Linked DNA regions of Homo sapiens: region 1 is linked to region 2. Evidence: promoter capture Hi-C in human tissues and cell types (Jung and others, 2019). All regions are on one chromosome and are shown on one strand. Each heading gives the region's core, a stretch centred on a gene start or on the middle of the fragment in contact. The rest is flanking DNA. Distances are from core to core; before and after follow the strand shown.

The links. Contacts are between HindIII fragments. The study calls those that stand out against the background at their distance.
Region 1: a contact is called between a fragment that was not itself captured here and the fragment with the promoter of CLU in region 2, in 1 of the 25 tissues and cell types used here (H1 embryonic stem cells).

Annotation. Positions count from the first base shown.
Region 1 is chr8:27,859,118-27,862,783 of GRCh38, reverse strand. No RefSeq gene overlaps it. Among named protein-coding and RNA genes, the nearest start is that of PBK, 23 kb to the right of the region's middle. The HindIII fragment of the contact is 4,925 bases long and covers 1-3,666 here.
Region 2 is chr8:27,612,949-27,616,160 of GRCh38, reverse strand. It overlaps CLU (clusterin), which reads left to right and starts at 1,461. Exons shown (of 9, transcript NM_001831.4): 1 at 1,461-1,506. RefSeq lists enhancers at 1-373, 1,330-1,829 and silencers at 1,218-1,307, 2,863-3,048. The HindIII fragment of the contact is 13,101 bases long and covers 1-3,212 here.

The DNA of each region.
Region 1 (3,666 bases), core at 1,010-3,509, 250 kb before region 2:
ATATGTATGTTAATAAACTTCTCTTCATTTTTCTCTTACTAATCTCTCTTTTGTTACAGGGGTTCCAGCCAAGAACTTAGAAGAGTAGAGAGGGGAAATTATTTTTTCCTCCCCTACAGTTTCCAGCTGTAATATTTAATGATGCCATCACTTGCCCAGAGCCACACTGCTAGACAGATCGGTGCAGGACAAGCCTTTGCCTCCTCAAATGATTAGGTTGGATGGCAGAGGCCACCAAAGATTAATCTGATCACCAGAAGCCGTGGGCATGAAAACGGCTGTTTTGCACGATAGATAATCTATACTTTTTCTGTTTCTCCTTGACATGCTGCTGGCTGGGGAGGTAACTAGTTCTAGATGAGGTAGGAGATGCTCCTGGTTTCCAAGTGAAATTGGTATTTCCCAGATGGTAGGAGTCCAATCCAGATTGCTCAGGGCTGGGAGAATGATGGAGGGAGGGAAGGTTAGAAATAATCATAAATTCTTCTTACTATTGTTTCTAGATGGAATAGCAGAAAAAGGCCAACTCCCAAAATAGACTGCTCCAGCCTGTTATCCACCAGGTAAGAGGGGGACTGCTTTGAGCCTGACCCCTGCACCCCCTCAGGATACCCACCTCCCCAGTGTGTGGAGACACCACCTCCCGCATGCCCCAGTTGCTCCCTGTAGCCATGCTATGGGGGGAGCAGACAGGACTATTGATTTTCAATTCAAAGACATTTAGAGGCAAATTCAACCTACTCTCAATTCTGCTAGGTGTAATTGGTCCAAGCTTTGGAATGAATTACCTTCAAAAAACAGCTGACACTGCACTTAATAATCCAGGGCCTTGGAATGGATCACCCCCAACCCACAACTAATTGGCAGAATGTGGAAAATAAGCACTAACTCATGGAATTCATTAACATTACCACTTAAAGGAATGGTTAAGCTATATGAATTTAGAAATGCAGAAAGTGACACTTACGTGTATCATCTGGCATGGAGTAGTGGAAAATTCCCTGAACTGGGAAGCAGAAGATAAGGGCTCTGTCCCTGAATCTGCCACTTAGGAGATGTGCGTCCTTGGGCAAGCTGCTAAGCCTCTCTGGGACTCAAATTCCTACCTTTGAATGAGATGATCTCTCAGTTCCCTCCCAGATCTGGTATTTTATAACCTTGAAACCTATGTAGCCTAAGACAAAATTCACAATTTCTACGGAAAGATGTTACCAGTAAGAACACTCTTGTATCTTAATGCCATAAACAGAACTGTCTGTTCTGCTCGAGTTGATAGACGGGGCTGCCATCTACATAGTTAGTGGCCTGTCATCTGGGGCCTCCATTGTATTCAGCTTTCTTTCCTCAGCAAGGAGCGTAGTACTTGGCACATAGCAGGACCTCAAATGTTGAGTTCATGAGTAAATGAAGAGTCATGTCTTAATGTAGAAATTCTCAAATTTCAGCAAAGCCTAAGAATGCGATTCCCTTGATCCTACTCTTCCATTTACTAATCTATCTATCTCCTCTTTAAAGCCACATCTCAAAAGAGATTAGCTGGATCGGGCACTGTGGCTCAGGCCTGTAATCCCAGCACTTTGGGAGGCTGAGACAGGAGCATCACTTGAGCCTGGGCAACACAGCGACGAATATTTTTCGTCTCTACGAAAAATATTTTTAAAATTAGCTGGGCATGGTGGAGCGCACCTGCAGTCTCAGCTACTCAGGAGGCTGAGATGGGAGGATCACTTGAGCCCAGGAGTTTGAGGCTGCAGTGAACTATGATCACACCACTGCCCTCCAGCATGGGCCATAGAGCAATACCCTGTCTCTAAAAAATAAACTAATTTTTAAAATTAGAAAATAAAAAGAGTTGACCTGCTGACTCCATTTCCTCACTCCCACTCCCTCCTCAGCATGGTCCAATCCATCCCCCCATTTAGGGCCACTGAAACTTTCCTAGGCTTACCAATGGCATCTTCCTTGGTACACCAAACACATCTTTTGCAGCCTTTATCATATCTGATCAGCATTCAACTCTGTTGTCTGCCTTCTTCTGTTTGTAGAATGAAGCAAAGCCTCGGCTGAGTGCAGCAGCTCACGCCTGTAATCCCAGCACTTTGGGAGGCTGAGGCGGGTGGATCACCTGAGGTCAGGAGTTCAAGACCAGCCTGGCCAACATGGTGAAACCACATCTCTACTAAAAATAAAAAAAAATAGCCAGGCATGGTGGTGGGTGCCTCTAATCCCAGCTACTCAGGAGGCTGAGGCAGAAGGATCACTTGAACCCGGGAGGCAGAGGTTGCAGTGAGCAGGGATCACACCATTGCACTCCAGCCTGGGAGACAACAGCAAAACTCTACCTCAAAAAACAACAACAACAAAAAAAGAAGCAAAGCCTCATCTGTGGCTTTGCTGAAACCACATGTTTAAGGTTTCCCTCTGACCTCTGTTGCTGCCCGTCCTCAGCATCCTTCGCAGGCTCACCTTCCTCTCTGGCCACTGAGTGCTGGAATGCCTCAAAGCTCTGTTCTACAAGCAGTCCTTGGACTATTTCATGCATCTCTATGTGCCACTGACTTGCAAGTGAGCATCTCCAGATGAGACATCTCTGAACATCCAAGCATGTGTCTCCAAGGGCCTCCATTATCACCCAGATATCACAAAGGCCTCTCAAATGCAATCTGGCCAGCTCACTCATAAGGAAATAACCCAGTGAAAAACTAGGCAAAACATTTGAGAAGACAGTTCAGCAAAGAAGATACACGTATATCAAATAAGTGCATGAAAAGATACTCCACACTGTCAAACCACACCACTACACACCCATGAGGAGGGTCAAAATTTCCACACACACACACAAAACCCAAACCTGGCAATACCAATTATGATGCAGGTACACAGCAACTGGAACTCTCATACTCTGCTGGGGGGAATGTGAAATGGCTTAGCCATTTTGGAAAATAGTTGAGCTGTTTTTTATAAAAAGGCCAGGTGAGGTGGCTCACACCTGCAATCCCAGCACTTTGGGAGGCCAAGGCAGAAGGATCACTTGAAGCCAGGAGTTTGAGACCAGCCTGGGCAACAGAGTGAAACCCTACCTCTACAAAAAAATAAGAATAAAAATTAGCCATGCATGGTGGCATGCGCCCAGGACTCCAGCTACTTGGGAGGCTCAGTTGGGTGGATCCTTTGAGCCTAGGAGTTCAAGGCTGCAGTGAGCTATGACTACACCACCGCACTCTAACCTGGGTGAGATGACTGAGACCCTGTCTCTAAAAAAAACAAGATAGTCCTGGCGTGGTAGCTCACACCTGTAATTCCAGCACTTTGGGAGGCCGAGGCAGGTGAATTACTTGAGGCCGGGAGTTCGAGACCAGCCTGATCAACATGGCAAAGCCCATATCTACTGAAAATACCAAAATTAGCCAAGCGTGGTGACGTGCGCCTGTATTCCCAGCTACTCAGGAGGCTGAGACATGAGAATTGCTTTAACCCAGGAGGCAGAGGTTGCAGTGAACTGAGATCGAGCCACTATACTCCAGCCTGGGTGACAGAGTGAGACTCTGTCTCAAAAAAAAATTAAAAGATTAAAAAATATATAAAGTAAATAAATAATAAATAAGATAAAATATGAAATATAGTTAAACATAAGCTTATATGAGCCAGCACCCCAACTCTAGGCAT
Region 2 (3,212 bases), core at 212-2,711:
ACTTGGCTTGGCTCTAGGTTAGGTTGCAGGGAGCCGTGGAGATGATCCATTCCCGATTCCTCATCGTCCAGATGGAAGAAACTGAGGCCCAAGGGCAAAGTGATTAGTCCGAGGTCACCCAGTGTCTAGGGGCACACCTAGGACTGTAATCAGACTTTCATGGACCTGGTCTGGGTTCTCCCACTTAGTCATGGGCCTTGAAGATTCCCCGAGGCTGCCTCCTGAAAAGGACTGGGGTCCTAGTGGCCCCTGGACGTTGGGCAAGCAAGGGACTGGGCCTCCATGTTGTGCCTCCATAGTCCTGATCCTGAACTGGAAAACTCAGCCCCTGACCACGCAGCTCTCCTTTAAGCCCCTTTGTTTCACATGGTTTTCAAAGTCTGCCACCCACAGTGGGGCTGCCTGTACCCGCCCTGTCCACCCATTGCCCCAGCTGTCAGCCCCTTGACTTCTCTCCTGGGGCTTAAACATCCCTGGCTCCAAAATGGGCAGCTCACTTTCTTCCCCAAGAAGTAGCTGCACCTCCAGGGTTCCTAGATTTGCCCCTCCTTGCCAGGGGGAGGGGTGGCTGCGACAGGAGATTCTCCCTGCTCTCAGCAGAAGGAACTCCAGCAGTTGGAGACCAGCAAACCCCTCTGGACACAGATCTGATTTCCTAACTGGGAAGGCTCAGGGCAAAATAAAAATTCAGGTCCACTGGTTCAAAAACTATGAAGAATTTCAAGACCGTCACAGTAGCCCATTAAACCAAACGTGGATCTGCAAGGGTCCCACAGCCATGAAGCCCACCCTGCTTGGTTGGGTTCCAAAAAGATGGGGACAGTGATTGCTTAAGCTCTGTGGATCAAGGACCCCGGAGAGGCCTTCTGGCTCTCCACATATCTGCTCTGATCACTCCTAAACACAATTCTGTTTCCTCCAGGCCTGGCGGGTCAGTCCAGGGACCCCCATCAGTGTGATGTTTCCAGGAGTAGGCGTTTCAATACTTCCTGTGCTCTCTTCTCCAGCACAAGGCCCCTCTCCATCCCACCCTCATTATGTCTGACTCTTTACTATTTAAATGGGTCAAGAGAAGTGGCGCTTGTGTAATGTGAAGGTTAAGGTCAGTAGGGCCAGGGAACTGTGAGATTGTGTCTTGGACTGGGACAGACAGCCGGGCTAACCGCGTGAGAGGGGCTCCCAGATGGGCACGCGAGTTCAGGCTCTTCCCTACTGGAAGCGCCGAGCGGCCGCACCTCAGGGTCTCTCCTGGAGCCAGCACAGCTATTCGTGGTGATGATGCGCCCCCCGGCGCCCCCAGCCCGGTGCTGCACCGGCCCCCACCTCCCGGCTTCCAGAAAGCTCCCCTTGCTTTCCGCGGCATTCTTTGGGCGTGAGTCATGCAGGTTTGCAGCCAGCCCCAAAGGGGGTGTGTGCGCGAGCAGAGCGCTATAAATACGGCGCCTCCCAGTGCCCACAACGCGGCGTCGCCAGGAGGAGCGCGCGGGCACAGGGTGCCGCTGACCGGTGAGATGTCCCCGTCTTCCCTACCCTTGAGCAGAGCCACACCAGGACGGATGGGCGGGCAGGGGATGGCAGCCAGGCAGAGAGGGATGACACAGCTCGCAGTCACAACCCCTGCGCTTTCGACGGAGCCCAGGAAGCCAGGGAGGGGAGGTGGCCGGAGCCCCATCACCAGGCAGCTGAGCCAGGGGCCCCGGCGCAACCGCCGCCTGAGAGCACGAGCTCCAACCACAATTCTGTGGTGGGGGGGTAAATAGAACAGATATAATGATCATCCTTTCGCAAAGATGGGGAAACTGAGACCTGGAGACCTGCCGCGTTGCGGGAGACCCAGGCTAGCAGGTGACAGAGCTGGCCTGCACCGAGCTCCTTCCTGCAGCATATCCTCTGCGAAGATGCGGATCTCTCAGTTGTGGCTTTCGGCTTGCATGCATGAGTCATCTAGTTTTCTTCTAAATTCTCTAGCTCTCTGGACACTGTTGCCTGTAAGTATGAGGCTGCGGATTTCAGTATATGCTGCAACCACCGAAATCCGACTTTTTCTGCCTCCTAATGCATCTGAGGTGCATCAGAGAAAAGTCACACAAGATCCACCAGGCCTCAGACCTCTGATTCCACAGTCTCATTTTACAGATGATAATCTGAGGCCTGGAGAGGTTTAGGACTGGTGCCAACACTAAACAGCAAATAAGTATCAGAATTGGGATTCGAGCCAAAGCCTCTTGACCTTCCAGAATTTCTGGACCTAGTTAAAAAAAATATGATTTTTATTATTATTTTTTAAACGGAGAGGTTAGGAATTTAAAGGAAAGTACAGATACTATATAAAAAAAGATGCCCATGAAAATGTTAAGTTATAATAATAGTGGAGCATTGGGCACAACTGAAATGGCCAATCTTGTGAGAATGGTAAAATAAACTTAGGTCCGTGAGTAAGTGGAGTATTACATAGCCATAAAAGTATGCCCTTAAAGAATATTTGAAGATGGTGAATGTGAAGAATCTTGTATAAACTGCATGGAAGACAGAAGGAAATATACCACAGTGCTAACCTTTGCCTCTGGGTGATATGAATTACCGGTGATTATTTTTCTTATTTTCCTTTTGGTTTAGTTTTCTCCATTTGAAGAAGCAGATAGGAGCCGGGGCTTTGGGATTGAAACCCTCACCATCTGTGTGCCCTCTTCACTGTCTTCCCATCCTCCCCACGGCTCCCTGTTCACAGTCATTGATTTTCTTTCTTTCTTTTCTCTCTTTTTTTTTTTTTTTCCTGAGACCAAGTCTCACTCTGTTGCCCAGGCTGGAGTAGAGTAGCGCCATCTCGGCTCACTGCAACCTCCGCCATCCGGGTTCAAGCAGTTCTCATGCCTCAGCCTCTGAGTAGCTGGGACTACAGGCGCATGCTGCTACATCCGGCTAATTTTTGTATTTTTAGTAGAGACATGGTTTCACCACCTTGGCCAGGCTGGTCTCGAACTCCTGATCTCAAGTAATCCGCCTGTCTTGGCCTCCCAAAGTGCTGGGGTGACAGGTGTGAATCAATGCGCCCTGCCAGGTCATTGATTTTCTTAAGCCTCCAGCCCTGCCCTGCTTGGAAACGTTTTGGGAAGCTGCTCAGTTCAAAGTTCCCAGGAGGGTGTGCCTGGAGGGGAGTTGCTCCCAAAGTCTGCCTGCTCCCCCCGCCCCCCCTGCCCCCCACCCCCCGCCAT